Linked DNA regions of Homo sapiens: all the other regions are linked to region 1. Evidence: promoter capture Hi-C in 16 types of primary human blood cells and fetal thymus (Javierre and others, 2016). All regions are on one chromosome and are shown on one strand. Each heading gives the region's core, a stretch centred on a gene start or on the middle of the fragment in contact. The rest is flanking DNA. Distances are from core to core; before and after follow the strand shown. Region 1 holds the start of CCDC184 (coiled-coil domain containing 184). Region 2 overlaps KANSL2 (KAT8 regulatory NSL complex subunit 2). Region 3 overlaps ENDOU (endonuclease, poly(U) specific). Region 4 overlaps LOC124902928. Region 5 holds the start of RAPGEF3 (Rap guanine nucleotide exchange factor 3). Region 6 has its middle 12 kb from the start of LALBA. Region 7 overlaps OR5BS1 (olfactory receptor family 5 subfamily BS member 1).

Region 1 (4,228 bases), core at 1,086-3,585:
TGCAGTTCCCACTAAGACCCACCCTGATATCCCCTTAGTACCAGTCAGCAAGGAGGGGAGATGACGCCTTTTTATTAAGGTTAACACCAAGGAAAGCATTGAGAAGGAATACACAAAGGAGGGGGAGGGCACACAAAGTCACCACTTGAGGAGGTGGAAGGGCGGCACATCAGTAAAAGAACCTCAGGACAGCCACATGCTCCATGCCCTGGTTGGGGGAAGAGGGAGAGAAAAGCGCCATTGATAGCTTGGAGCTCGTAGAAGGGTCTGAAGCCCCTGAACCTAACACCAGAGCCACAAGCCCTGCCCCTGAGGGCTCACACACTACTACACAAGTAGACACACATAACACACACAAGACATTATGAAGGCAACACCGAGAGGCAGTGGGCAAGGACATATTGACAGAAAAAGGAACTGAAGTTAAGCAGGTGTAGCCAGGAGAGACAGTTTTTGGCTGCGGCCCCAAGAGTCCCTCAAATGTCCCCTAAATCTGGGCTGCTGCTGAGCACCCCCGAGTCTCTGCCTGTGAACCGGGCTCTTTGTTCTCTAAGCCCCAGGGAGTGGAAAAGCAATCCCAGATGAAGTCAGTGACAAGGCAGGATCCGCTCTGCATGCAAAATCCTAGAGGTTGAGCTATTATGTCTTCATGCACATTCATAGCCAGCTCCTCCCAGCCCAGGGGCCCTTGGAACCCCATTCACCCAGATTCCTAGGGCTGCAGTTCCCTCCTCAAGCTTCCTTTACCAATCAGCAGCCGCAGAGATCTGTGAGGGGGAGAGGCTTCTGCAGAGCACTGAATATCTTGGATTTCAGCAGAAGGGTAAATTTCCTGTTGCCAGAACAAAATACCCCCAATTCCTTAATTTCCAGGTAAATTGTTAGAGATTATTTGCCATGGTCCTAGGTAAGTCCTTTTTCAGAATAGAAAAAGCAGAATTTTATTTACACAATTCACGGGTTCTCCTGTTGTCTGGGAAGGGGGAAAGGACAGGATAGGGATGGATGGGAGTCCAGAGATGGGCGCTTCCTCTCCCGGAGCCTCACCTTTCCGCAGTTCGCTATAATTCGCTTAGTTGGGCAGAAAGAATTCTCGATGCTCCCAAAGTCCTTCACCCTACAAATCCTTCCTCGAGGGAGTCTCTCTCTGCCTGACCCACAAGAGCAGCTGTCCAAGTGAAGCATGCCGCACCGCGCCGTTCAGTCCCCCTCGCGTCATGCACTCGGAAACCCAAAGACAGCCCGGGAAGGTAGTGCCCCACGGAGTCCCCTCACAGGGAGGCCTCGCCCTCCAGTTGCAGCAGGGTAATGTCGGGCATGTCGAGGGGCTCCACAAGTGGCCCGTCCCCCCCAAGGAGACCAGCACAGGGGCTTTCGGGGCGCTCACAGTGACTGGAGGGTGTGGCGGGGCTGGGCATCTCCTTCTCTTCTTCCTCTTCCTCCTCGTCCTCGGGATCGCGACCCAGCAAGCCGCTGTCCCCGATCCCAGGCGAAGGAGTCTCCGGCTCTTGGGGGTCGCTCTGGAAGCTCCCCTTGCCGCCGACCACGCCCAAGCCGCCCTGGCGGGGCGCAGTGGTCATAATCTGGCACATGGAGACGATGGCTCGCTGGTTGGCGCACACGTCGTCCGAGAGCACCTGGATGTGCGAGGCCTGCTCGTCCAGGGCCCCCCTCATGGCCCTCACGTCCTCAAACAGGGCTTGCAGCTGGGCTTTCAGGTGCTCCATCAGTTCCTTCATGCCGCCGTTGTACTCCCCGGAGATCACGTCCCCCACTGCCGGCACGGTGGACACCTCCAGGGGCGCCGGCATGTCGCCGCCGTCCTTGGTCATGATCTCCAGCAGACCGTCCTCCATTGAGTGGCAGAAGCGGGTGGCGGAGGCTCTGGGTCGCGTCCAGCCCGGCCTCCGGGGTGGGGGAGGGGGTGGAGGGGGAGAGGTCCCGGGAGGGGCTAGCGGGAGCCGAGGGAAGCGGAGGCTCCCGAGACTGGCGGGGAGCCGACGTGAGAGACGAGTCCTGGGCAGAGGGCGCAGGCAGGATCGCGGGAGGCCGAGAAGAGGCTGCGGGACGAGGACCCGGCGAGGGTCCCAGAGCCGGCGTCTCTTGGGATCGCCCCGGGACGAAAGTGCCCTGCCCTGCCTCGCCTCCCGGATCGCGCCCGTGTCAGCGCCGCCCTCTGGGCGCCACAAGCAGAGAGCGCCTGCCGGTTCCGTGGGTCACAGACGCGCTCGCGGAGGGGTCCGCGTCCAGGCTGAGGCCAGCGGCGCGTCGGACTCGGGACTCCCCCAGGCCATTACCGGGCAGCGCCCGCGAGTGTGGCAGCAGCAGCTGGGGTGGGTCTCCCGGGGGTGTCGCGGATGCTCCTCTGTTTCCAAGGCGACGCACGGCACGTAAATGACGTGTGTCTCCATGGTAACCAGGAAGTGGCGAAGAAAAAGGGAGGATGGCTGGAAGCTGCAGTGGGGCTCTGGAGTCTGGACTAGCGGGGTGGGGGGAGGAGAGGGGACGCTACAGTGGCTTCGGCCAAGGCTGGAAAGAGCGTGTGGTCGCAATGTTTAATAGGGAAGTATGAGAGAGCCGTCTGCTGCAGAAACCTCCAAGTCCGGGAGAGATCGTCCCTCCCCTAGCCGGGGTATGAGACCCAGCGAGACTGCCCTGGAAAGATTTTTCCAGCCCGCATTCCTTTCTCAGAGGATGGCGCTAAAGTCGAGTCCTGCCTCCCTGTCCTCCAGCGATGCGCAGGAAAGCGGAGAGGGTAGAGAGGCTGTTGCTAATGATCCCAGAGTTGAGCTGGGGCACGGTGGCGCTCTGGAGCCGGACCCACCGGGCCTGACGGTGCAGAGGCAGGAGGAGGGCGCTACGGAGGTTTCTGCAGTAAATCAGCCCTCTAGCTATAGAAATCACCGGAGCGGGGGAAGGATGGGACTCCCTCCTTTATGAGACCCTACCGCTCCTACGCAGGTCTCTGGGAGTTTGTCCCAGATGGGGAGGCCAAGTGCTTAAGTTTTGAGAATGAAAGCTCCATAAGGGGAGAGATTTTTGTCTCCCCTGCACCCTCCATCACGGAATCCCCAGCTCCTAAAATAGTGCCTGGCACCTAGTATGTAGATGCTTAATATAGTTATTGAATGAATAACAAAAACCACCAAGTCCCACGCTCTCATCCAGAACTCCCCAAGCCAAACGTAGTGGGTTTTAGGAGACCTGAATTCAGTTTCGTTTCTGCCACTTATTCATTCAGCGACCTTGGCCACATCATTTTCCTCATCTGTTAGGGAATTGGACTGGATAATCTATAATACTATTTCTAATTCTGAATAACAGTCTGCATCATCTCACAGGTGAAAAGGTAAACTGTTGACCGTTGTGTGGAGGGTATGGATGGGGGGACTGTGTGTTAGAGTAATTCCCGCTCTCTCTTTCAGTGCCCAAGTTCAGACATACACTGAGTATCCCCAACCTTTGTGACAAGCCCTTTCCCTATTTAAGGGGTGGAGCAGGAAGGGTGGAGGAAGAAGAAAAATTGTCTTTAATATACGTAGATGATTGCAGATTGAGAAGGAATCAGCACCTGGGCAGAGCACAATAATTAATAATGACCCTAGGAAATTAGGGAAGCCAAGTGATCGGAAGCCAAAAATGAAGTTCATAAGAATAAATCTGGGAAAGAGAAACAAACTATATCACTTCAAGATAGAGAAGAACTACGTAAAGGTGAGTGTTTTGTAGACTGGCGGTTCAGTGACAGCAAATGTGTTACCTTTGGGTTTCCCTGGTTATGTGCTTGGTGATGAAGAGTGAGGCTGGCCCAGGGAAAGTTTTGTGACACTAGAGGACTGCTTGACCTATACCAATCTTACTGCTTTTAAAATAGAAACAAGTGGGGACTATCCTAAATGACCAGCAGCAGAATGTTTAAATAAACTAAGGCAAAATTGCTGATACATAAAGTATTATGCAGCCATTAAAAATTTGATTTCCCAAAACAAATATATGAACAAATTTTAAAAACACAGTATTGTATTTTCTGAAACTAATGATTCAATTCTATTTGCTTGCTCATTTCTTCCTTCATTCTACAGATTTCCAGCACTCTCACCTTGCTTAGGACTCCTACCTCTGCTCTGTACCCCACACGTGGTAATAACACCTTAGATTACTCCTGAAACTCTGGCTCAAGAGAGGACAGAAATGCTTTTCCTTGGTTTCCATAAGCACAGCTGAAGTG
Region 2 (4,228 bases), core at 969-3,468, 480 kb before region 1:
GGAAATTAAAACTTATTTTCTTTATTTGTTTTTTTTGAGACAGAATCTGACTCTGTCACCCAGGCTGGAGTGCAGTACCGTGATCTCAGCTTGCTGCATCCTCCACTCCCCTGGGTACAAGCGATTCTCCTGCCTCAGCCTCCCAAGTAGCTGGGATTGCAGGTGCCTGCCACCGTGCCCAGCTAATTTTTGTATTTTTAGTAGAGATGGGGTTTCACCGTGTTAGCCAGGATGGTCTCGATCTCCTGACCTTGTGATCTGCCTGCCTTGGCCTCCCAAAGTGCTGGGATTACAGGCATGAGCCACAGCGCCCGGCCACTTATTTTCTTTAATAGGGAGAGGAGAAGGAGAACCTCTTCTTAGTCTTTTGACAGGAAGCTGATTTTTATTTTGCTTATTAAATATTTTACTAATTTATTAATTACAACAGATGTCTGATAAGAGATTATTGTTCTTAATATATAAAATGGTTGTGCAAAGTAATGAAAAACTCTAAAGATAAATGCTTACAGCCTGGACAATACAGTAAGACCTCATCTCTAAAGAAAAAGAAGAAAGAAAAATTATCTGGTCACGATGGCATGTGACTGTAGTCCTAGCTACCTGGGAGGATTTTTTGAGCCTAGGAGTTTGAAGCTGAAGTGAGGATCATGCCACTGCATTCTACTTTGGGTGACAGAGGAAAACCCTGTCTCTAAAAAAAAAAAAAAAAAAAAAAAAGCGGGCGCAGTGGCTCACACCTGTAATTCCAGCACTTTGGGAGGCCAAGATGGGTGGATCACGAGGTCAGGAGTTCAAGACCAGCCTGGCCAAGATGGTGAAACCTCATCTCTACTAAAAATACAAAAAAAACTAGCCAGGCATGGTGGCGGGTTCCTGTAATCCTTGCTACTTGGGAGGCTGAGGCAGAGAATTGCTTGAACCTGGGAGGTGGAGGTTGCAGTGGGAGGAGTTCACGCCACTGCACTCCAGCCTGGGCAACAGAGTGAGACTCCATCTCAAAAAAAAAAAAAAAAAAAAAAGGCCAGGTGCGGTGGCTCACGCCTGTAATCCCGGCACTTTGGGAGGCCGAGGCGGGCAGATCACGAGGTCAGGAGGTCGAGACCATCCTGGCTAACACGGCAAAACCCCATCTCTACTAAAAATACAAAAATTAGCCGGGTGCGGTGGTGGGCGCCTGTAGTCCCAGCTACTGAAGAGGCTGAGGTGGGAGAATGGCATGAACTTGGGAGGCGGAGCTTGCAGTGAGCTGAGGTTTTGCGCCACTGCACTCCAGCCTGGGCGACAGATGTGAGACTCTGTGTCAAAAAAAAAAAAAAATTGCTTAAAACATAATTGGGCAGAGGCTATGGGCAGATTTAAAAGAAGATAGAAAAGGCTAATAGGGCCGGGCAAAGTGGCTCTCACCTGTAATCTCAGCACTTTGGGAGGCTGAGGTGGGTGGATCACCTGAGGTCAGGGGTTCGAGACCAGCTTTGCCAATATGGTGAAACCCCATCTCTACTAAATATACAAAAATTAGCCAGGCGTGGTGATGGGCACCCGTAATCCCAGCTACTCGGGAGGCTGAGGCAGGAGAATCGCTTGAACCCGGAAGGCGGAGGCGGTGAGCCGATATCGTGCCATTGCACTCCAGCCTGGGCGACAGAGTGAGACTCTGTCTCAAAAAAAAAAAAAAAAAAAAAAGGCTAATAGTTAAAAGTGTGTATCTTCACTATAAATACAGTTGGCCTTTGAACAATTCATGGGGTTAGGGTGCTGACCCCCTACACAGTTGAAAATTTGTATATAATTTTTGATTCTCCCAAAATTTAACTGCTAATAGCCTTATGGCTTACTGTTGATCAGAAGCCTTATCAACAACATAGCTTCCTAACACATATTTTATATGTTTATATGTCTTATATATTGTGTTCTTAAAATAAACTAGGAAAAAGTGTTACTAAGAAAATCATAAGAGAAAATATATTTACTGTTTATTAAATGGAAGTGGATTATCATAGAGGTCCTTATTCTCATGGTCTTTTTGTTAAGTGGAGGGGGAAGTGTTATTGTCTGTGGGATGACAGAGGCAGAAGAAAATGCACGTGTAAGTAGACCCGTGCAGTTCAAGCTTGTGTTGTTAAAGGTCAACTGTAAATAGGAAATAAGGAAAATTAAAAATCTATAAAATTGATATTTGTACATATATTTGTTTTAAAATAAAATTTAAAATATACAATTTTTCAAAAATGAGTCAGTGAATTTCAAAAGTAGGTGAGAGTATGGTGAAATTGACCCTTCTAAATATTGCCAGTGGGAATATAAATAGATAAAAGCTTTTTGGAAAGCAATCTGACAGTAATTCATATTTCCTCATATGGTAATTTTTACCTCTGGGAATTTATTTTAAGGAGATAATCAAATGCAGACCAATATTTTTACATGAAATATTCTTCCAACTTGAGACAGCCTTAACATTTTTAGAGCTGGAGAATAGGTAGATAAATTAATGACACAACATAGTGTGGAATATTTTCAGGCATTAAATATATTTAACAGAATTTATGAATGACAGCAAAATGATAGTGACATTCCAGGATATGGAATTCTGTACGGTGTCTGAAATTGCATGAAACCAAATACTGGAAGGGAACAATACAGAAATGTGATAATTTGTGCATGGTGTGGTTGTGAATGCCCTTTTTTCACTGTTCTTTTATTTTTTGTTTTTTTAAGGCGAGCATGAATTACTTTTATAAGGGAAAAAACTCAGTTTACAGATACTAAGGACTATTTTAGATATTATAATACTGTAGTCAAATAGCTTATTAAAATATAAATATAAAGCAAAATTGAAAATGTATTTGAAAAGAGAAGGGAAGTATTTTTTTTCCTTTTATGCTCTTTCCTTTCCACTCCATAGTTGCCTAAGTCACTTACCCTTCCTTAAGTCCTTATCCCAGAGAAAGATGCGACTGCCATTGGTGACCTGTTAACTCTTTACTGTGGTCTAATGGAGACAGCACTCGACTGAAAGTGAAGGACCCAGACTCTAGTTGTAGGTTAACCATTCCCTTCTTTTTACCTCTTTTGCCCCATCTGAAAGGAAAGCGGGTGGAGGATGATGGGGGGAGTCCTTTTTTAGGATATTGTGGTATTAAATACATAAGAGACTTGTGAAAGTCCTTTGAATTCCAATAAAAAAAAGTTCTTGGCCAGGCGTGGTGGCTCACGCCTGTAATCCCAACACTTTGGGAGGCTGAGGCGGGCTGATCACCTGAGGTCAGGAGTTAGAGACCAGCCTGGCCAACATGGCGAAACCCTGTCTCTACTAGAAGTATAAAAATCAGCCGGGTGTGATGGCAGGTGCCTGTAATCCCAGCTACTTTGGAGTCTGCGGCAGGAGAATCTCTTGAACCCAGGAGGCAGAGGTTGCAGTGAGCCGAGATCACGCCACTGCATTCTAGCCTGGGTGACAGAGCGAGACTTCGTGTAAAAAAAATTTCTGGTTGAAACATTTAATGGATAATATTTTAAATATTAAGAGTGGGCTTCTTAAGCACATTAGATATTGCTTAGATTTTCTTAAGCGCATAGTGCAAATCTGATGATTCCCATTAGATTCATATGTTTATTCATTTGATCATTCAATAAATATTTGTTTGCCTTGTACTATCTTCTGTTTCTTTAGAGTAGTGGTTTTCAACTGGGGGCCATTTTGTTTTCCAGTTGGCAATGTGTGGAGAAATTTTTGGTTGTTACAACTCAGATGGAGGTGCTACTGACAGCTAGTGGATAGAGGCCAGGAATGCTGCTATACATCCTTCTTCCAACAAAGATGTACCTGGCCTACAGTGTTGGTAGTGCCACAGTTGTCACACCCTGCTTGAGAGTTTAGTTATTTCCAAGTATGCATTGAAAGAAATAGCTTTATTCAAGGAAGTTCATATGGTTTTAAAAATTATAATGTATGTTAGTTTTTTTATTTAAAAAAATTACCATAAAAGTTTTGAGTTGAAAATTATAACTCCATAATTCAGGTACTATCAGTTTAAGAAAAATTGTGTTTTCTGGTTAAAAATAAGTCAAATTTTAAAATAATGTTTATTAATCTAGGAAGATAACCAGGTAGTTAACAGATTTCAAGAAATGGTAGCACTTGCATAAAATGTGTTTTGTAAAGTAACTTGAATTTTATTGTATCTAATCATCTCAATTTTGGTTCATCCTACAGAGCTTCTTTGCT
Region 3 (4,228 bases), core at 484-2,983, 470 kb after region 1:
AATCCAGTCTCCCTGGAAGGTTCACACAGGCCCCTAATGGACCCTCAACAAATACTGTCTGACTGTTGCCATTGGGCACCCGTTCTACTCCACTCTGTGGCACTCACCAGACCCCCTTTTCTGCCCTTCCCTCCACAGTGGGATTCTTACCCCGATGTGCTGGCAATGCAGTTCAACTGGGACGGCTACTATAAGGAAGTGGGCTCTGCTTTCATCGGCAGCAGCCCTGAGTTTGAGTTTGCACTCTACTCCCTGTGCTTCATCGCCAGGCCAGGCAAAGTGTAAGAATGGGGCCAGCCAGGCCTGGGGGCAGACTGGGGCTGCAGGCTGTCCTCAGCCATCACAGAGTCAAGAGACCTGGACTCTGCCACAAAGAGGCTGAGAGGGCTTGGACAAATCTGTGCTTTGGGCCTCAGTTCTCTTGCTTGAACAATTAAGTTTTTGGATTGGTTTGGTGGCTGCCAAACTTCATCTTAGCAGCAAAATTATCTCCCCTCATTCCCCCAAAGTGAAATCTTACGCAGGACCTTAATATATGAAATAGAAATGGAGTTGTCCTAGAGCTCTCAGCCTCTTTATTTGTCCCCTGAGGCTACTTAGGGGAACCTAGAGCTCCAGAAAGTACCATTAGGAACCACTGGGCTTCAAGTTCTCTAACATTCGGACACGTTGAGTTCTTCCACTTCTGAAACCCTAAGCAAATGTTTAATTTCTAAGGATTTCACCTCCAGAATCTGGGATTTTGGAATATTGCTCTGGGAAAGATGAGGAACAGCATTCTTTAAGAAGACAAGAAATAAGGCAAAGATTTTGAAATGGCTCCTTGCACATGGGGAGCTGGAGGCAGCTGCTGAAGAAAGCAGTGCCAGCTCTGTCTTTAAGGCTGTTTAAGCAGAATGGAGCCCTTCTGCTTCAGTTGGGCTTGATCCTTCCAGCCCAGGGAGAGGCAGCGTGAAGTGGGGAGCTCCTCTGATTTCAGGCTCTTTCCCCACAGGTGCCAGTTAAGCCTGGGAGGATATCCCTTAGCTGTCCGGACATATACCTGGGACAAGTCCACCTATGGGAATGGCAAGAAGTACATCGCCACAGCCTACATAGTGTCTTCCACCTAATAGAACTTCGAGCCAGAAAGGGGCATGAGGGCTCTTGCGAGACTGAAGTGCTATCTTCTCTGGACTAGAGAGAAGAGGGAGAGGACTGGAAGGGATCACCAAATCTCAAAGCAATGAGAAGCATTCCTAAATCCCAAAGTGCCCACATGGGAAAGAGATAAAATGTACAAATTAGAAAAATGTGGATAAACAGTCAAACCTTTATCCTCTAGAATTTTGGCAATGTTGACTAAGAAACAGAGTCCAAGCAGAGAAGGTAGGAACCCTCCATAGCTCTCTGCCCTGATGTGTGGGGGAACTAGGAAGAAGTCCTTTGACCTCACCAGGCCTCATGCTTCCCTTTAATGTAAAGGGAAGGGGTTTGCCCACTTTCCTCTTTTTGGGGTTGGTGAGAGGGCAAACCCTGATATTTTTACTGTGAAGGTGTTTTCAGTTGTTCTTAGGAAGAACAGCTGATAGAAATTCAAGATTACTATAATGGCTGTTATTATACACAGCTCTGTAAACTACCACTCAGCCCTGTGTTGGGGTCCTCAAAGAAGTAAGGCCACAGTAATCAAGCAAGGGCCTTTGGTTTTTTCCAGAGTTAGATCCTCTCAGAACAGAGTCTGGGAGAACTCCAATGCTGAATGGAGAAGGGTAATAGGTTGGTGCAGTGAATGGGCTGGGGGTGGGGTGGCCTTCTCCAGGCCTGAGTGTTTTTGTGTCCAGCTCAGTATCTGCAACAAGAAGTTTCCCACTTGTGGATGTTTAGTGCAGCCACAGACTTGTATTTTGATCCCCAATTTTTTTTTGAAAGAGTTCTCCTCATAGGAGGATGATTCAGCATCAGAAGAAGAAGGAACCCATAGCTTGGTGTCATTAACATAATTATTTTAAGCCTTATCCAGCAGCCATAATTTGAATAACTCTACGAGACCAGAGAGACTGTAGTTCCCTATTTTAACCTCAATTATGCATTTGTCCCCCAACCCCACTGAGAACTAAATGCTGTACCACAGAGCCGGGTGTGAACTATGGTTTAGAAGGTTCAAGTTTCCAATTAAAGTCATTGAAGAAAACTTGAAATGAGTGTCTTCTTTGTATATGGCCTCCCTCCAATGTCTGTCTCCCTGCCTTTTCCCTAGAGCAGGGCTGGCAGTGATACTTTTGCTCTAGAGTCTTTTCAGAATGGCTTGAAGAATGTGGTATCTGGGTGAAGTCTCTGTTGACTCACTAAGTCTCTCTAGCCAAGAGGGGAAGAGAATTCTGTAATATGAAGAGTGGAAGGATCATTGCATACAGATAGTGAGGCGGCCGGTGGGGGGGTGGTAAATGGAGATTGGTGGTCCCCATCCCCAATAACCAGTCCCCTTTATCAAATACACAGGAGTATAAGGACATTTCTGGATGTAGCTTCTGTGGTTGCAGAGGTTGACCACACTGGGGGAAGAGGAGATGCTAAAGAGATACAGAAAAAGACTTCTTATCTGTAAACAGATTACTCAAGCCACAATGCTAGAAAACGGTCAGGTATGAAGAGATACCTCGGGCAAGTTTATAGCCTGCAGATAGATGAAACAGGGCCTTGTCCTGCCCTTTCCCAGAGATGTTCACAGTCAATAGGCAAGACAGTGAGTCAGTAGAGCACAGGGGTAACAGGTACAGGCTCTGAAGTCATGTTGCCCAGGTACCTAGCCAGGCTCTGTTGCTTACTGGCCATATGAGCAAATTTCTTAATTATTCAGATTGTTTCCTCACCAGTCAAATGGGGATAATATTACCATTGTTGTGAGATAAGGAATGTGAAATAACATGCTAGTCTTTCTTATAGTAATTATTGTCTCACTTATTATACAGATTTAATTTTATACTGGGAGAGGCAATTTACTATCCCTGCTATCAGCCTTAACCTTCACCTACTGGTGCCCAGTACTTGTGCTCTTCATAGGCCTCTTCAGAGGTCTTCCAGGTAGTCCAGTAGGAGACAGAAAGACAGAAATGCAGGAGAGAGTACTGTATTCCAGGGTCTGGGCCTTAGCTTTGCAGGAGAGAAAGGTAAGAACTAACATTTGTTAAGCTGTTACCATGTCCCAAGCTGTGCTAAGTAGTCCTTTTATATTCATTTTCTCACTCTGGTGGGTATTTTTATCTTCACCACTTTAATTTTACCTAGACAACTGAGGATCAGATTAAGCCACATTCTTAGTCAGTAGCAGAATCAGGATTGCAAAATTCAACCCTTTTCCTCATGTTGTAGTGAGCCTGGATTTCTAGTAGTATCTACTCACTTATTCATTCATTATTTTTTAAAGAATATTTATTAAGACCCCTGACAGAGGCTGCTGGTTACCCCTCAGTATCTGCTCTCCTCTTCTTCCTTATTCACTGAAGTCTCAGTTTTTAGGTACACAAATGACTGTCAAGAGTACAGACTCTTGACCTCCCTTGCAACCAGAAGTAGGCGTGTGTCTATGTCCTCACCAATGGCATGCAAAAGGAAGTATTCTTAATGGGCAGGGGGTACCGTTATTCCCACTCTTGCCCTTTTCTGCCGACTGGATTTCAGACAAGATCGTGGGAGCTTGAGCAGCCAGCTTGAACCATGAATGAAAGCCATATGCTGAAGATCACAGAGCAGCCAGGAAGGAGCCTGGGTCTCACACCGAAACTGTCACACTAATCCTGGATTGCTTATATTCAGTTTTACATGAAAGAAAAATAATCTTTCATGTTTAAGCCACTCTTATTTTGGGCTTTCTGTCACATGCAACCAAACTTAACATAGTATCTCCATAACAGGAAGTCCCAAGGTTCATTTTCTTCCTAAAGTTACTTAGCTAATACTTCCTTTCTTAAGATTTACATTAACTGTCAGACTCTTTAACTATTTGAAAGAGCCCAATAATTGTTTTGGATATTAAAATTAATAGCATTTACAATCATTAATTGCAGCATTTTATTGTTGCAATAATAAACACTCCTGTTTATTTCCACTGACCATTACAACTGCAACACATAAAACACATAAAGAGGTTTGTCTCTTTGAAAATAACTCTTCAGGTATTAATGATAAGTTCAATTGAGATGACTGGAGTAAATGAATAAAAGAGACTTAAAAGAAAGGCATTATTTAC
Region 4 (4,228 bases), core at 456-2,955, 450 kb before region 1:
TCTGTCTCCAGCCTACCTCTCCAGCCTTATCTCTCATGACTTCTTTCTGTTCCACAAATGTGGAAAGCTTTGCTTTAGAGCTTTGCACATACCTTTCCTCTCTGCCTGTTTCCTCCAAATTATCTTTGACACTTATTCCTGGTTAACTTCTACCTATCCTACAGGTTTCATCTTAGAATTAATTTTCTCAGGGAGTTGTCCTTTGACCCCTGACGTGGATGTGCTCTCTGTCCTTTGTCTTCATAGTACCCTCACATTTGTAATATATGAGTATTTGTAAAATTATTTGTTTAATGTTTGTTTCCCCTTTTAGACTCTAGAACTGTAATAAGGGACTTACTGTTTTACTCCCTGCTGTATCCCTTCTCCTGTGTAGTGCCTGGTGTATATTTGCATTGAATAATTAGTAGAAAAATCTAATAAAAGTGGTACCATGATCAGACTGGGTGAGCCACTTAGCAGCAGGAACCTGTATGGGAGAGAGTGTTCTCACTCCTGGAGGGGCTCGGGTAAAGTTGGGATGGGCTTACCATGAAATGTAAAGTAGTGGAGGAAGTGGAAGGACCTACTGCTATGAGAATGCCTGCCTTCCTGTGTCTGACCCTTTGTCACAGCTATTTAGGACTCCTTTCTGGTTGTCTGACTCCTTATTTTGCCCTCATCCAAAAACTGTAGGGTATTTTTCTTCCTGTTGAATTGTTGTTTCTAGAATTCACTGGACATATAAACCTCATATCCTTTGGGATTGGTTATAGGCCATAGATTGCCAGAACTGAAAGAGTCACTACTGCTATTACTGGTTTGTGTAATTATCAGCTTACAGTTAGTGCTTGCATGTGCCAGGCATTGTTATATAATTATCTCCATTTTACAGATGAGGCAGCCAGGTCATAAGAGACTAATGAATTTTCCCAAGTAATTTTATATATAATCTGGTCCAACCCTCTTAAGTAAAAGTGAGGAAATCAAGGCCTAGAAATATTAACTACTTACCAGTAACACCAAGTGTGTTAGTTTCCCAAGGCTGCCATAACAAAACAGCAAACTGGGTGGCTTAAAACAATAGAAATTTGTCTCAGTTCTGGAGACTAGATGGCTGAAAGTATTGGCACGGCCATGTTCTCTGAAACTTGTAGGAATGAAAGAATTCTTCCTTGCCTCTTCCTAGCTTTTGCTGGTTTGTGGGCTGTTTTTGATATTCCTTGGCTTGCAGCTTCATAACTCCAATCTCTGTCTTCATTGTCACAAGGAGTTCTCTCTGTTTTTCTATCTTTACATGGCCATCTTATAAGGACACTAGTTATATTGGATTAGGGGCCCACCCTACTTCAGTATGACTTCATCTTAACTAATTATTAAAAATGGCAAAAACCATAATTACTTTTGCACCAAACTAATACATCTGTAATGACACTATTTCCAGGTCATATTCTTGAGATACTGGGGGTTAGGACTTCAACATGTCATTCTTTGGGGGACACGATTCAACTCATAGCACTAAGTAATTAATGGAAGAGCTGGCATAAGAATGCAAATAGATTCATCAATGAGATAATTTTTACGTTGTGCCCCATATGAGTTCATATTCTTGTAATGTGTTTATTCCACATTCATTGGATATAACTCAAAGTTTTAGTCAAACCTCTTTCTCTTTAGCCATAGAGCAATTTTGAGATTTATATTTTATTGTCTTATTTGTGGTTGACTGTTACCAATTTTATTTTTTAACAGCTTTATTGAGTCATAATTGTCAAACAAAAAATTGCACCTATTTAAAGTGTACAACTTGATACCTTTTGGCACATATATACACTTACGAAACCATCCCCACAATAAAGATAGTAAGCATATCCATCACGCCAAAACTTTCCTTGAGTTCCTCTCTCTCCCATTCCTATTCCCTATTCCAAAGCAATCACTACTCTGCTTTTTGTCACATAGATTAGTTTACATTTTTTGAGTTTTATATAAATGGAATTATATAATATGCATTTTTTTGGGTCTAGGGTCTCAGTCTAGTGTACTGCTATATAACAAAATACCTTTAGGGTAATTTATATATTTATTTATTTGAGACAGCGTCTCACTCTGTCGCCCAGGCTGGAGTGCAATGGCGTGATCTCGGCTCACTGCCACCTCTGCCTGCCGGGTTCAAGCAATTCTTCTGCCTCAGCCTCCTGAGTAGCTGGGACTACAGGCGTGCGCCACCATGCCCAGCTAATTTTTTGTATTTTTAGTAGAGACAGGGTTTCACCATGCTGGCCAGGCTGGTCTTGAACTCCTGATCTTCTGATCCGCCCGCCTCAGACTCCCAAAGTGCTAGGATTACAGGCGTGAGCCACTGTGCTTGGCCAGATAGGGTAATTTAGAAATAAAATAAATTATTTATCACAGTTCTGGAGACTGGGAAGTCCAAGATCAAGATGATGGCAGGTTCAGTGTCTGGTGAGGGCTGCTCTCTGCTTCCAAGTTGGTGCCTTTTTGTTGCATCGGCACACAGCAGAAGGTGGAAGGGCAAGAGGGGACTAATGCTGTGTCCTCACATGGAAGAGAAGGAAGGCCCAGGCAGCTCTCTGAAGCCTCTTTTATAAAGGCACTAAGTAGTTTATGAGGGTGGAGCCCTCAAGACTTAATCACTTCCCCAAAGGCCCTATCTCTTAGTAATATCACATTAGATATTAGGTTCCAACATGTGAATTTTGGAGGGACACATATATGGTCAGCCTTTTTAAAATTTTAACAATTCTAATGGGTGTGGTTATATTCCATTGTAGTTTTAATTAGCTCTTCCCTAATGATTAATGAGTTGAGCAGCTTTTCATCAGCTGCTTATTTGCCATCCATGTGTCTCTGGTGAAGTTTCTATTCAAAGTTCCCCTACTCTTGGCCGTAGTCATCAGCAAAGGAATCAAGGATTTTCTTTTTTTCCCCTTTAACCGTGAGGTCAGTGTTGCTGGAACAAAAATGAGAGCAACAAGCCTAATCTTTCCTAATCTCCTTCCTTCTTTTCCTTTCCTTTTCTTTTTTTTTTTTTTTTGAGACGGAGTCTTGCTCTGTCACCCAGGCTGGGGTGCAGTGGCGCGATCTCGGCTCACTGCAAGCTCCGCCTCCCGGGTTCACGCCATTCTCCTGCCTCAGCCTCCTGAGTAGCTGGGACTACAGGCGCCCACCATCACACCCGGCTAATTTTTTGTATTTTTAGTAGAGATGGGGTTTCACCATGTTAGCCAGGATGGTCTCAATCTCCTGACCTCATAATCTACCTGCCTCGGCTTCCCAAAGTGCTGGGATTACAGGCGTGAGCCACCGTGCCCAGCATCTCCTTCCTAATAAAGAAAGCTTATTGGCTTTCAATAAAATAATACAGTGGAAGATCAAAGCATTACTTCTGTATGGAATGGCAGTTTTTCCTGTCCAGAGAACTGCCGCTTCTACTAGTGGCCACTGTGCCCTGGGGTGGTCTCTACTGTGGGGCAAAATGATTGCTTGCTTTTCTTTTAGTGTAGCCCCCTTCCCTCTGCACTTGCTCTTTGGATGCAGCATTAAAAAAAGGTAGGTCAAGTTTTTAGGACATGTGTTTGAATTCAGCGCTCTGAGGCAAACTGCTTCAAAGTCCAATTTACATCCAGATTTGGGGATGATCAAAAAAGTCCACTGTTACCTCTGCTACTGCTTTTTGTTTTGTTTTTTTAAATGGGCAGAAAAGTTCATGTCTTGCTGGCTACAATCATAGACGTGTGTATGTTTCTTGCTCTTCTAATACCACAGACAGCTTTGAGATGAGCAAAAGATAACAAAAGCAGCCATAGGTAGCCAGCCGAATCATTGCCATTTATTGAAAATACCATGCTTTCCTTACATCAGTACAGTGCCAACTTTGTCCTGTCAGGTGATCATATTTGTGAAAGTCACCATTCTGTTCCACTCATCTGTTCACCTGTCTTTTCACCAATACTATGCTATCTTAATTACCATAGCATTGTAATAGATCTTGATATCTGGACATGTGAGATGTCTGGTTTTTTCTTCATAAAAGCTGCCTCAGCTACTCTTCAGTTGATTTTTTTTTTTTTTTTTTTTTTTTTTGAGATAGAGTCTTGCTCTGTCTCCCAGGCAGGAGTGCAGTGGCGTGATCTCGGTTCACTGTAACCTCCTCCTCCCAGGTTCAAGCCATTCTCCTGCCTCAGCCTCCTGAGTAGCTGGGATTACAGGCGTGCACCACCACGCC
Region 5 (4,228 bases), core at 1,160-3,659, 430 kb after region 1:
GCTTGGCATCCCAAAATTGGGAGTATAGGCTTCTTAGAGCTACCTCTTCCCAGTCTTCTCCTCACTTTCAAGAAAATAATCATGGTGGAGGATGCGGGCTTGGCATCCCAAAATTGGGGTATAGGCTTTTTAGAGATACTTCTTCCCAGTCTGGGCTGGCTCAACAGCAAAGGGAAAAGGGAAGAGAAGGGGCAAAAAGTCCTAAAAAGCTGGGGGTGGGGCGTTCACCTCCTTCCAAACCCTCATTATCGTCCTGAATTACGGGTCGCTGTCCCCGGCCACTGTCTCTCCACCCTCTCAGGAGTGGGGCGAAGAGGCCCGCGCTGGGCCATTTGCACAGTGGTGGAAACTGAGGCCCAGGGAGGCGTGGAGCCTCGGTAGCAAGCCTGCCTAGCAGGGCGCTGGAATGCCCGGTCTCCGCCTCAACCTACCCGGCCACCAGGGAGCGCGCGGTAGGGGGCGTGGTACTCGAACACCTTCTGCTCCCCTGGAAGCTCTGCCACAACCCCAATCTCCTCTTAGGGCCCCTACCCGTTCTGGAGAGCAGTCCTTCCTCTCCAGCCTCAGTTTCCTCAACTGCTCCCGGTGTGTGTGTGCTGGGGCAGGGGGCAGTGGGGCGTGGGTCTGGGAACGGAACTGTGGGAGGCAAGGCAGCGGGATTCCCCGCGGGAAAGCCGCCTATTCCCTCCCCCGGGCGGCTGGAGACCCTGAACCGAAACAGGAGGCAGACACCCCCAGCCGGGAAGCGGCCCCAGCCCGGATTTCCCTCCCGGGTGAGGCCGCAGTGACTCACCCCCTCCCCGCTCTCCCCGGTTTCCTTGTTTGCATTTCTCCTCCCGGCCACGTGGCGGCCAGTGCAGCCACTCACCGCCGGATCCCTGACACCCCGGCCGTTGCGGCCTCCTCCACACACTTCGGGGCCGCTCCTGCCCCCTGGGGATACTCTGGGCTCAGGCGGATGTCCACTCTGGTACCCCCGGGTGCGGACTCCAAAGCCTGCCAGTGCCGGCCCCCTTCCCCTACGCATTCCTCTACCGTAAGGCAGGGCGCCTCCACCCCGCCCCCTCCGCCAGTCCTGGGGAGGGGAAGGGGGCGGGCAGCGCAGGGGGTGTGACAGCTCCCGCCCGGACCGGTGCCAGCGCAGCCTTGCTTCAGCGCCCGGTGCCAGCTGGCTCCTTCGTCTGAGACGAAGGCGCAGGCTCGGGGCTCCCTGTCGCCGGTGGCTGGGTGGCGTCCCCCCACCACGCCCCCACCCCTCTACTCACCCAAGAGGAGCCTCTCCACCGAGCCCTGCATCCTGCTGCCCTGGCAGCCAGTCCAGCTAGGCACTGGCCCAGTTCACTGTACCTGGACTTACCCACTGGCACCCTCCGGATCCCCTTATCAAAGCTGATGGGGGTCGCTGGGGACCCCCCAGCCTTTTGCTAGAGCCTGCACGGCTGTGCGAGCTTGAAAAGAAACATGAAGGTGGGTAAGGTGGGGTCAGGGTTGAGGAGGAGCAGGAGAGGGCGGGAGAGGAAGCTGACACGGTGGGGAGTTTGGGTGGGAGAGGGAGGGTTAGTCAGGGCTGAGGAGGAGAGGAGAAGGGTTTAAGCCGAAGCTGCATTTCTGGGAGACCTAGTGAATCTATAGCTTCATACTGGGAGGTAGTGGAGATCCCTGCAGGGGCATGGGCAGTGAGATGGGACAGAATTCCAAAGAGGACTAAGAAGGGCCTGATCTTTTCCAAGAGCCAGCTGGAGACCCCTAAGTGCGCCAGACCGGCAGGCCCCAGTGAAGGTCTTCCTGTTCCTCCCCCCAGCTCCTGGCAGGGTTGCAGCACCTCCGCCTGACCAGTCCAGAGGACTCTAAGGAAGTAGTTCTGCCTGGGGCAGTTGTACTGTGGCCCAGCCGCCCCAGTCGTGTCCCATGGCTGTCCACTTTCCTCCCCGTGTCACAGGTGGGCTGGCCAGGTGAGAGCTGCTGGCAGGTGGGCCTGGCTGTGGAGGATAGCCCAGCTCTGGGAGCACCGCGGGTGGGAGCCCTCCCTGACGTGGTGCCGGAGGGGACACTACTCAACATGGTGTTGAGAAGGATGCACCGGCCCCGAAGCTGCTCCTACCAGCTGCTGCTGGAGCACCAGCGTCCGAGCTGCATCCAGGGGCTGCGCTGGGTGAGTACCTTTCACCTGCCCAGGTGCCAGGGCCAGTACCAGAGCTAGAGGGGGGCCTAGATCATGGCTTGGCATGCTGCTGGTGGCCCAGCTTGCTCTGGGGGTGTACAGTGGTACAGCTGCCGTGGACACTGGGTCAGGAAGCTTGTCTGCAGTGTGCGTGGGTGGCTCACACAGCTGCAACGTGTGTGTGTCTGTGTGTGTGTTCTGCCCAAATGTCTCTGTTTGGGCATGGGGGGAAGGGGAAAGGGATTTGTTGTTTATCTGTCACCTCAGTGAGCCGGCATTGAGTTAGGTACTTGTGTGTTCTTTCCAGGTGGAGGTGGGAGGTATGGGGGCCGGGTCAATGGGTTGGAGTGAGGTAAGCTTGGTTACAGTTCTGGGTGCATCACCGTGGCAACATTCTCCTTTAGTGAGTTACTGAACTGTGCTAATTCTGCGTTTTGGTCTTAGGGTGAGGTGATCATGTGGACACTGCTTGGTACCTGCCTTTGGGGGGCTCAGGGAAGGATTCTGAGACATTTGGAGAATCTGAGATCACCAAAGTGCCCTTTGCTAGTGAGAAACATCTCTGGACCTGAAAGAATGAAGGAGAGAGCAGGGAGGGGAAAGAATGGTGGGATTTGGGAGGCAAGATAATGGCTGTACTATCCAAATCAGCAGAGAAGCTATCCCCAACCATCCAGACTAAATAGAGTAGCTTAGCTTGAGATTCAGTTATGTCTCCACTGCGTGTGTCCACCCAGGTTTCGCTATGTTGCCTAGGTAGGTCTTGAACTCCTAGGCCCAAGCAATCCACCTGCCTTGGCCTCCCAAAGTGCTGGTATTACAGGCGTGACCCACTGCGCTTGGCCGGGAGAGTTCATTTCTTTTTTCTTTTCTTTCTTTTTTTTTTTTTTAACCAGAGTCTTCCTCTGTCACCAGGCTGGAGTGCAGTGAAGCAATCTTGGCTCACTACAGCCTCTGCCTCCCAGGTTCAAGTGATTCTCCTGCCTCAGCTTCCTGAGTAGCTGGGGCTACAGGTGTGCGCCACCACGCCCAGCTAATTTTTGTATTTTTAGTAGAGATGGGGTTTCACCATATTGGCCAGGATGGTCTTGATCGCTTGACCTCGTGATCTGCCCACCTCGCCCTCCCAAAGCACTGGGATTACAAGCATGAGCCATTGCGCCTAGCCGAGAGTTCACTTCTTATTGGCAAGTCCTTTTGAGTGGAATAACCACCACCCTCTCCCTCCTTCCCCCTACCTTGCCCAACTGCCATTTACAGTGAGGCTGAGTTGAAAAAACTGAGACCTACCAAGATGAGGGGCTCCTCTTTGCAATCAGAATTGAGAGGAGAGTCCACATGTCAGTCCTGGTAGAGCTGTTCTCTACTAGGGTCTTCCTTATCATGAGCCTGGGTCCTCCTCCGCTACCCCTCTGGCTCTCCGGCTCTCCGCTCTCCGGGTCACTGGCTGTAGCTATTGCCTGGAGCCAGTGGGCTGGAACCCTCCCTCCCTCCTTCCCTCTTGGGCTATAATTATTTGTGCATTTCCTGTCCCCTTCCCAGCTTGTGGAAGCAAGGTAGGGGGTAGGGAGAAGGTCAGGTGCCAGGACAATAGGTCACTGGAGGATCTCCTGGGACCTGAAGTCTGGGAGGGAGTGGAGGAGGCCACCAAGCTGTCTCCTGACTCTCCACAGCCCCCAGAAATGAAGGGCTGGTGTGCAGGGGAAGGCCAGAAAGGTGGGGGTAAAGGTTGCTGGAGTGTAAATGGGGTCAAAGGCACCAAAACAAGGCCTTTCCGTGCCAGGTGGGCGTTGGTGACTAGAGGGAACTTAGATTTTTAGTGTTTAGAGGCAGGCGGCCACTCCCTCTTCTGATGACCAACTTTGGGGACTGGGGTGGGGAGGTTTCATTCCATCATGCCTATATTTGAGAGGCTCTGGGTACCTGTGAAGCTGTACTTCTTACCTCTTGATGATGCCTTTAGCCCAGGGAAGGCTTCCGTGAGGGAATGAGTGCCAGCTGTGAGCATGCACGCCCATGGTGAAGGGGTGGAGCCCGAGTCCCAGGAAGACAGCACTGCCAGTTATT
Region 6 (4,228 bases), core at 523-3,022, 400 kb before region 1:
TGTATATTCTGCAGTTATTTGATATAATGTTGTATATACATCTATTAGGTCAAATTTATTAATTGTATTGTTAAAATCTTATACTGACTGGTTTGATCTTGTCTTATCAATTATTGAGAGATTAATCCCTTGCTTTGAGTTCAATTTTCTCTTCTTTTTTTCTAGTTTCCTAAGGTAGAAGCTTAGATTTCTAATTTGATACTTTTCTTCTTTAATATAGGCATTTAATGTTATAAATTTCCTTTTAAGCACTACCTTAGCTGCAGCCCACAAATTTTGATATGTTATATTTTCATTTTCATTCCACTTAAAATATTTCTTAATTTCCCTTGAGGTTTCCTCCTTGACAATTAGTTATTTAGAAGTATGTCCTTTAACTTCCCAATATTTGGGGGGGATTTTCCAGATACCTTTCTGTTATTGTTTTTTAGTTCTTTTGTGATATTTTAGTCCTATTTTTTGTTTGTTATTTTCTTATTCTATTTTGTTTCTATATGGGTTTGGAATCTTTGTTTTTCTATTATTTTACTAGTTTACCTGAAAATTTTGATAATGCACTTTTAATAAACTCTGAAGTGAATTACTATCTTTACTATTTCCCTATAGAATGCAAGGCCTTAGGAAACTTTCACTCTAAATATTGCCCAACTTACATGCTTCTATTTTCCATCATTTTAATTTTGAATATCTAACTCCACAAAGCAGTGATTATCTTTTGTCACAGGTCAGGCTCCCCTGAGAAACATTCTGCGATGGAGACTGGTGTACAAGTTGATTGGACAGTGGTTTTGGAATCAACATCTGTGTGTGTTTGTGGGGTGGGGTGGTGGGAGGCTGAAGGAAGTAGGACTGGTGACAGGGACAAGCTGTGCTCTGGTGCAGTCACAACAAAGTGCTCAGCCAATCTTGTGGGGAGTTGTGGAGCTGAAATGGCCCTGCAGACTTGTCTCTCACTGAGGCAAAGGGGCTCTCCTTTTGAGAATAATTTTCAGATTGGGATTCACCTGAGTGCTATCAGCAGATAGCTCTCCTAGCAGCTGGGGGAACCACTGCTTTAATCCTGAAAGGGGTGGAGGGAATCTGGTTGGTGCACTGTAGCATCCACTGGAATCCATTTGTGTGCTGCTTGGACCCACTTGCTTTGCATATGCTCTGGGAGTAGCTCTTTCAGGATTTTGGTGATGTCTTTTCATGGGGAAAATTGAAAGAAGTTTAGTGGTGTGAAAGTTGTCAGAAAGGTTCTCATGTTTGTATGCCTGATAACAGAACTATCCCAAGAGATGGCAACAATCACAACCTTGCAAAGTCCATTGCAACCTACACAAAAAATACTTCTGCAAAGGCATTTGCCCAGCAACTGTCTGTTCAGCCTTGAACTGGCGTCACCCTTGTTATTGACCCTGATAGCCAAGGATAATCATCTCATTTCTGTTTTTGTTTGAGGTGAGGTCTCGCTCTGTCACCCAGGCTGGAGTGCAGTGGCGTGATCTTGGTTCACTGCAACCTCCGCCTCCTGGGCTCAAGAGATTCTCCCACCTCAGCCTCCTCAGTAGCGGGGACCACAGGCACGCACCACCACGCCTGGCTAATGTTTTGTATTTTGGTAGAGATAGGATTTCGCCATGTTGCCCAGGCTGGTCTCAAACTCCTGAGCTCAAGCAATCCGCCTGAACCTTGGCCTCTCAAAGTGCTGGGATTACAGGCATGAGCCACCATGCCCTGCCAATAATTTCAAAACAATTGTGTATAATCCTCCTCATTTTTCCTTTAAAAACTTTTGTCTTCCTTTACCTCCCTGAATATATACATAGTTTATTATGGCATATGTATTCCCATTGCAAAGGCTTATTGCCAAATAAATACCTTTTTCTTTTAGAAGGTCTCTCTCTGTTATTTCATTTAACAGTGGAATTAATTACAGCTCCCACTGCTGCAACTGGTCTCTAGGCTGCACCTGTCCCTTACTACTCATTCTAGATTCCTCTTATTCTAGAGTGGTATTGCTGCTAGTCTAGTGGCTTACCTTGTGGTCTGACTCAGATCTTCATCCTTAAAGTTCTGAAAGCCTGGTTACCTTTCCCTTCTCAGGTTGTAATTGCTGAGTTTATAATTTACAATAAAAGTTGGGCCGGGCGCGGTGACTCACACCTGTAATCCCAGCACTTTGGGAGGCCGAGGCAGGCAGATCACGAGGTCAGGAGATCAAGACCATCCTGGCTAACACAATGAAACCCCGTCTCTACTAAAAATACAAAAAAATTAGCTGGGCATGGTGGCAGGTGCTTGTAGTCCCAGCTACTCGGGAGGCTGAGGCAGGAGAATGGCGTGAACCCGGGAGGTGGAGCTTGCAGTTAGCGGAGATCGTGCCACCGCACCCCAGCCTGGGCGACAGAGCGATACTCCGTCTCAAAAAAAAAAAAATAGTTGGGCAAGGAGGCCGGGCATGGTGGCTCACGCCTGTAATCTTAGCACTTTGGGAGGCCAAGGTAGGTGGATTACCTGAGGTCAGACATTTGAGACCAGCCTGGCCAAAACATGATGAAACCTCGTCTCTACTAAAAATACAAAAATTAGCTGGGCTTGGTGGTGTTCACCTGTAATCTCAGCTACTTGGGTGGCTGAGGCACAAGAATCACTTGAACCCAGGAGGTGTAGGTTGCAGTGAGCTGAGATCATGCCACTGCACTACAGCCTGGGTGACAGAGTGAGATTCTGTCTCAAAAAAAAAAAAAAAAAATTGGGCAAGGAAGTGCCAAGAGACACCACAATGGATCACCTGGATGCCAAACATATTCTTCATCGCTAATTTTGATGATTAGGGTTAGTCATCCCTTCCGGGATAGTGAGTCTTTCATGCTTGTTAGTCTCTTAGCATGAGAAACGTGAAGCTGCAGCTGTAGCTTAAAGTTTAATGGGACACCCACTACGTTTCCTAGAACTGAGAACTAATATCTCTTAGCTATAGAGCTCAACGTGACAGGGACAGGAAGTACAGATTCCCAAAATAGGTCACTAGGAGTGACGGTGAACAGGGCAGTTTTATGTCTACTCCTGGGTTCCCAGGTTCATGTATTCTATGTATCAGAGACAGCACCATACCATGGTCATGTTACTGTCAGGGAGAATGGCAGCCCATTTCCACAGGGTTTCCAAATCTCATTTTAGAGCTTGCTGCCTTGAACTACTTCTGACACCAACTGTTTTAGGTCAGGTTTCCTGGGTAACAGACTCTGAGATGGAGATTTGCGTGCAGGAAGTTTACTGGGAAATGCGCGTGGTCTCAACACCTGTGAGGTGAAAGATTGAAGAAAGCAGGATTGGCCAGAAGAAGGTGAATTGTGATATAGTCATAACAAAGCTTCAGCTGATTTCATAAGAGCCTCTGGAACTGGGATGGCTGTGAAAAATTGTCCTCCATTGAGGCAAAGGGGCCAAGCTTCTCTATCCACATCAACCAGCCACTGGATGTGAACTGCTTCTGGGAAGTAAATGTGTCCCTTGGGCAAGGTGGCTCTTTTCAGTGGAGGGGAGTTGGTTCTCCTCACTTGCATTCATAATAGTTCATTTTGTGTTTGGTAATTTTCTTTTTAGGGACAGAGTTTCACTCTGTTGCCCAGGCTGGAGTGCAGTAGCATGATCATGGCTCACTGTAACCTGGGCTCAAATGATCCTCTCATATCAACCTCCTGAGTAGCTGGGGCTACAAGCACTTGCCACCACGCCTGGCTAACTTTTAGATTTTGGGGAAATAAGGATGGGGTCTCACTATGTTGTCCAGGTTGGTCTTTAACTGCTGGCCTCAAGCAATCCTCCTGCCTTGGCCTCCCAAAGCACTGGGATTACAGGCGTGAGTCAATGCATCTGGTTGATGTGTTTGGTATTGTTTTCTGAGCTCCTAGTTAGTTAACTTAATCTGTGGAAATTTCAAGGACCTCCGAGGAGGATTGCTTATGCTTCTTCCACATCTCAATTTAGTTTATTTTCTCAGCTTGGAATTTCCTTGACTAGATGTGGTTATGTTAGCATGAACTTCAGGCCTGAGTGAGAACAGGCCAATGATTTTACACTCTTATGGGAGAATATTACTATTATTGTTGTTGTTAATTATTTTATGCCCTGAGCTATGGCAGAGGCAGATAGCTTTTGTGGTGGCTTCCGTTTGCTAGAAGGCAAATAATTAAAAGAAAGAGCCTACCTATCACTTTCGGGGATGATAGGATTATAAACC
Region 7 (4,228 bases), core at 434-2,933, 380 kb before region 1:
AGCTGTTGCTGAAGGAATTGACAGTAAGAGATTTATCTGTAGAGAGAACCTCAGCCTGAGGTCAGAAGATCAAGAACAGATAGAAGCCAGGGAACTGGCAGGAAAGACATCTTTTTCTTTTTTTCAATTATTCATTTGTTACAGTGGGTTATGATACAAATGTTTATAGATGCCTACTCTGTACTAGTACTACAGAGCAGTTTTTCTGTGTTTATATTCAGTTCAATTGTAGTGTGTTGAGTTGTAAAATAATCCATGTATTAAATCAAATAAACAAACAAAATGCCATGTTCTTTGGTACAAGCAACACTACCAAAGGCATTTGGGGTCTGCATTTGGAATTCTCAGGCAAACTCTCTCTTGTTCCTAGTCTGTACTTATTTTCCCCACACTAGCTTATGTATATATATTTTTTGAGATGGAGTTTTGCCCTTGTTGCCCAGGCTGGAGTGCAGTGGCACGATCTTGGCTCACTGAGACCTCCACGTCTTGGGTTAAAGCGTTTCTCCTGCCTCAGCCTCCTGACTAGCTGGGATTACAGGCGCCTGCCACCATGCCCGGCTAATTTTTGTATTTTTAGTAGAGATGGGCTTTCACCATGTTGCTCAGGCTGGTCTTGAACTCCCACCTCGGCCTTCCAATGTGCTGGGATTACAGGTGTGAGCCACAGTGACTGGCCTGTACATTTTTTAAATTTCAATGTCTAATATGGTGTCCACTGAATTAAGAATTCTTTTGAGAAAATGAATCAATAAATCTATACACTGCCTCCTTTATCCAGTGAGGTATGGCTGGATCAGCTTCATGACATACATGCCAGTAGTCTTCTTCGCCTTCTCCTCCTCCTCCTTTTTTACAAATAAAAATTGTATATGTTGAAGGTGTACAACTTGATGTTTTGTTATATGTATACACTTAAATGATCACCACAGTCAAGCTCATTAACATATCATCGCCTCACATGATTACTTTTCTTTTTCTTTGGACATAGAAGCAGGCTTGATAGATGCAGTTCTCTTGGCATTTGGGTAGAAGCAGGACAGGAAACTGCTGTTCTCTTCCTGAGAACTTTCTTGAGAGCTGAATAGGAGGCAGCATGGCAGCTGAGCATCGGTTCTGCTTTCTCTACCTCTGTCTCTTTCCCTTAGGCCTAAAATGAAGCTCTAAGCCAAGCAAAGGTCTGAAGTCATCCAGACTAATTGGGAAGCGGGTAGGCTCCAGGGAGTGGCTCTCAGAGAGCAGACCATTTACTGAGCTCTGTGTGAGAAAGACTCAAAATGGTTCACAGCAATACAGAGTTTTGTTCTCTCCTCTTATCCTGCTTTCTCCTCCCTGCTACTTTTCCCTGACACCTATCTTGTTGTGAAGACAGGAATTGCATTAGATAAAATCAAATGTTTTTTATTTTTTTTTGAGATGGAATCTTGCTCTGTTGCCCAGGCTGGAGTGCTGTGGCACGATCTTGGTTCACTGCAACCTCCGCTTCCTGGGTTCAAGCGATTCTCCTGCCTCAGCCTTCTGAATAGCTGGGATTACAGGCATGCGCTGCCACGCCCAGCTAATTTTTGTATTTTTAGTAGAGACGGGGTTTCACCATGTTGGCCAGGTGGGTCTTGAACTCCTGCCCTCAGGTGATCCGCCCTCCTCAGCCTTCCAAAGTGCTGAGATTACAGGCGTGAGACACCGTGTCTGGCCTCTTTTTTTTTTTTTTTTGATGGAGTCTCTCTCTCTGTTGCCCAGGCTAGAGTGCAGTGGCGTAATCTCAGCTCACTGCAACCTCTGCCTCTCAAGTTCAAACAGTTTTCCTGCCTCAGCCTCCCAAGTAGCTGGGGTTACAGGTGCCCACCACCATGCCCAGCTAATTTTTGTATTTTTAGTAGACCTGGGGTTTCACCGTGTTGGCCGGGTTGGTCTTGAACTCCTGACCTCAGGTGATCCGCCCACCTCAGCCTCCCAAAGTGCTGGGATTACAGGCGTGAGCCACCATGCCCGGCCCCAAATATTTCTTTTCATGTTTCTTCTCCCACTTCTCCTTCTCTCTCATCCATTCATTTTTTTCATTTATTGAACACTAATTAAGAGCCTATTAGGTGACAGGAGGTACTAGATATTGGGTATACAGAAGCTATTAGAGGTTTTTCTCTTAAGACCCTTATACTTTAGAGGGGGATACTCCCCTCCTCCCATTTCCTGGGATCATGCAAGAGAAAAGACTTCAGGTGATCCACATTCATTCCTTCCTTCACTGCTTGATTTGTCACCAAGTGGTTATTGAGGATATGCTGTTTGCTAGGTACTACTTTACTTATTTATTTGTTTATTTAGAGATGGGGTCTCACAATGTTGCCCAGTCTACAGGACAGTGGCTATTCACAGGTGTGAGCACAGCACACTACAGCCTCAAACTCCTGAGTTCAAGAGATCCTCCTGCCTCAGTCTCTCGAGTAGCTGGGACTACAGGGATGTGCCACCACACATGGCTTAGGCTCTACTTTAGCTGCTACTTGTTAAGGATGAAGATAGGAGGAGACACTCTTATTTTATTTGATTTCTTTTTTTTTTTTTTTTTGACAGAGTTTTGCTCTGTTGCCAGGCTGGAGTGCTCACTGCAACCTCCACCTCCCAGGTTCAAGCAATTCTCCTGCTTCAGCCTCCCGAGTAGCTGGGACCACAGGCATGAACCACCACACCAGGCTAATTTCTGTATTTTTAGTAGAGACAGGGTTTCACCATATTGGCCAGGATGGTCTTGATCTCCTGACCTTGTGATCTGCCCGCCTCGGCCTCCCAAAGTGCTAGGATTACAGGTGTGAGCCACCATGCCCGGCCTATTTGACTTCTTTCTAAGTTGTTATGGGATGTAGATCTTTCCAGGGACTTTTTGGCATGAGAACAAAAGAGGAGTTGGGTCACAGTGCCAAGATGGGACTATCCCAGAATGCAGAAGGACATTTGCTAGTGGTCTGATAGGTCGATTTACCTTTTGTGCATAGACATAAGTAAAAGGGAGAGGGAGAGGCAGGAAGAAGAGGGGTCAAAAAGGCAAGAAATGAGAGGAAAAAGTATTAGCTGTAGAAATGGCCAGGATGCCCTGGATGCCCTGAGGATTTTCTTGTATAATGACTGGACCCCCTCTGATGGGTGCTACCTGCTCTGTGAGAGTTTCCTCATTGCCTTTGGCTGGGAACAGGGCATTGGAGGAAGATAAACTAAGGTCTCTGTTTTGGAAGGAGATGAATGTTGAGGTAGCTGAGTGGTGATAGCTCTTCCTCCCTCCTTTTTTCCCCATAACTTTTCCTCCTGCTGAGGCAGGGACGCTGGGCTACAAGGGAAGCCTGGACTTCCTGGCCAGCATCCTCCTCAGAGCCACCTTTACCTCCTGGCTCTTCAGACTGTAGATGAGGGGGTTCAGCAGGGGGGTTATCACACTGTACTGCACGGAGAGCACTTGTTCTAGGGCTGAGCCAGATGCTGGAATCATATACCTTGAAGGGAATTGTACAGAAAAGCAACTTATGACAATGGTGACAATTCTCACTGTTGGCAGCAATAATTCATCCCCTCCCTGCAAAGACTCTGCAAAGGAGGTCTTCAGAGCTGACTTTCTCTGGTGGCAGCATCTAGAAATGGCTGATCTGTGAAAAGTCAGTCATTTCTGCCTTCAAACACTTCCAAACATAAGTGAGCTCACACAGAAAGTTATAGGAGCTGCCCCGAGGAACAAGCAGTTCTGCAGCATATCAAATGTTGCAGGTTAGAACAGAATTAATATTGGGGACAGATAAAAAGTAAAACAAAAAAATAGAATGAATAATAATATCATACATTTCCATAGCATTTCATACTCTTCAAAGCATTCTTCCTTAATAGCTGTGATGATCATATGAGGAATTTTTCTCTTTATACACAACAGTACAGAAACGCAATGTTCTCACCTTGTGATGACTGTTCATGTAAACTGTACACTTAGTTTAAAATATCGTCATTATTCCCAACCTTCATGGCCCTGGGAATTACCCTCAGAATCCTTGCCTGTTATTTGTATAAAGTTGAGTGGAACAAACATTTGCCCTTTTAGTTGCATTTTTCTTTGGTTTGGAAAAGAAGCCAAAACTGGTAAAATGGGAGATAAAAATGTGTTAAGCACATAATATGATTCCAAAATAATAAGATTAAAATCTTGGGTACATTTTGCTAAGTACCACTCGGAGTATCTTCCAAAGAAGCA

Evidence for each region. The method cuts DNA at HindIII sites, captures the fragments that hold promoters and counts their contacts. A CHiCAGO score of 5 or more calls a contact.
Region 2: a contact is called between a fragment that was not itself captured here and the fragment with the promoter of CCDC184 in region 1, in 2 of 17 cell types (megakaryocytes and erythroblasts). The highest score is 5.3, in megakaryocytes.
Region 3: a fragment that was not itself captured here is called in contact with the fragment with the promoter of CCDC184 in region 1 in 11 of 17 cell types (fetal thymus, naive CD4 T cells, non-activated CD4 T cells and 8 more); the score reaches 19.6 in fetal thymus.
Region 4: a contact is called between a fragment that was not itself captured here and the fragment with the promoter of CCDC184 in region 1, in 1 of 17 cell types (M1 macrophages). The highest score is 5.1, in M1 macrophages.
Region 5: a fragment that was not itself captured here is called in contact with the fragment with the promoter of CCDC184 in region 1 in 2 of 17 cell types (fetal thymus and naive B cells); the score reaches 7.6 in fetal thymus.
Region 6: a contact is called between a fragment that was not itself captured here and the fragment with the promoter of CCDC184 in region 1, in 3 of 17 cell types (M1 macrophages, megakaryocytes and erythroblasts). The highest score is 7.0, in M1 macrophages.
Region 7: a contact is called between a fragment that was not itself captured here and the fragment with the promoter of CCDC184 in region 1, in 1 of 17 cell types (M1 macrophages). The highest score is 5.7, in M1 macrophages.

What each region holds. Positions count from the first base shown.
Region 1 is chr12:48,181,751-48,185,978 of GRCh38, reverse strand. It overlaps CCDC184 (coiled-coil domain containing 184), which reads right to left and starts at 2,335. Exons shown (of 1, transcript NM_001013635.4): 1 at 53-2,335. The coding sequence starts at 1,856. The coding sequence ends at 1,272. The HindIII fragment of the contact is 3,853 bases long and covers 740-4,228 here.
Region 2 is chr12:48,661,372-48,665,599 of GRCh38, reverse strand. All of the region lies in intron 7 of KANSL2 (KAT8 regulatory NSL complex subunit 2), which reads left to right. Among named protein-coding and RNA genes, the nearest start is that of SNORA2B, 4.1 kb to the left of the region's middle. The HindIII fragment of the contact is 205 bases long and covers 2,116-2,320 here.
Region 3 is chr12:47,707,686-47,711,913 of GRCh38, reverse strand. It overlaps ENDOU (endonuclease, poly(U) specific), which reads left to right. Exons shown (of 10, transcript NM_001172439.2): 9 at 139-281; 10 at 995-2,180. The coding sequence ends at 1,112. The region is part of intron 1 of RPAP3-DT (RPAP3 divergent transcript); the gene reads right to left. Among named protein-coding and RNA genes, the nearest start is that of RPAP3-DT, 3.7 kb to the right of the region's middle. The HindIII fragment of the contact is 7,938 bases long and covers 1-4,228 here.
Region 4 is chr12:48,635,947-48,640,174 of GRCh38, reverse strand. It overlaps LOC124902928, which reads left to right. Exons shown (of 1, transcript XM_047429953.1): 1 at 1-1,865. Among named protein-coding and RNA genes, the nearest start is that of SNORA2C, 16 kb to the left of the region's middle. The HindIII fragment of the contact is 3,272 bases long and covers 70-3,341 here.
Region 5 is chr12:47,755,790-47,760,017 of GRCh38, reverse strand. RAPGEF3 (Rap guanine nucleotide exchange factor 3) reads left to right here and starts at 1,138. Exons shown (of 28, transcript NM_001098531.4): 1 at 1,138-1,467; 2 at 1,940-2,152. The coding sequence starts at 1,462. It also overlaps a transcript of SLC48A1 not described here. RefSeq lists enhancers at 590-1,258, 1,259-1,927, 4,141-4,210 and a silencer at 969-1,318. The HindIII fragment of the contact is 222 bases long and covers 2,299-2,520 here.
Region 6 is chr12:48,579,620-48,583,847 of GRCh38, reverse strand. No RefSeq gene overlaps it. Among named protein-coding and RNA genes, the nearest start is that of LALBA, 12 kb to the right of the region's middle. The HindIII fragment of the contact is 3,177 bases long and covers 184-3,360 here.
Region 7 is chr12:48,562,051-48,566,278 of GRCh38, reverse strand. It overlaps OR5BS1 (olfactory receptor family 5 subfamily BS member 1), which reads right to left. Exons shown (of 2, transcript NM_001396061.1): 2 at 3,323-3,485. The coding sequence ends at 3,323. Among named protein-coding and RNA genes, the nearest start is that of OR5BS1, 4.3 kb to the right of the region's middle. The HindIII fragment of the contact is 6,527 bases long and covers 1-4,228 here.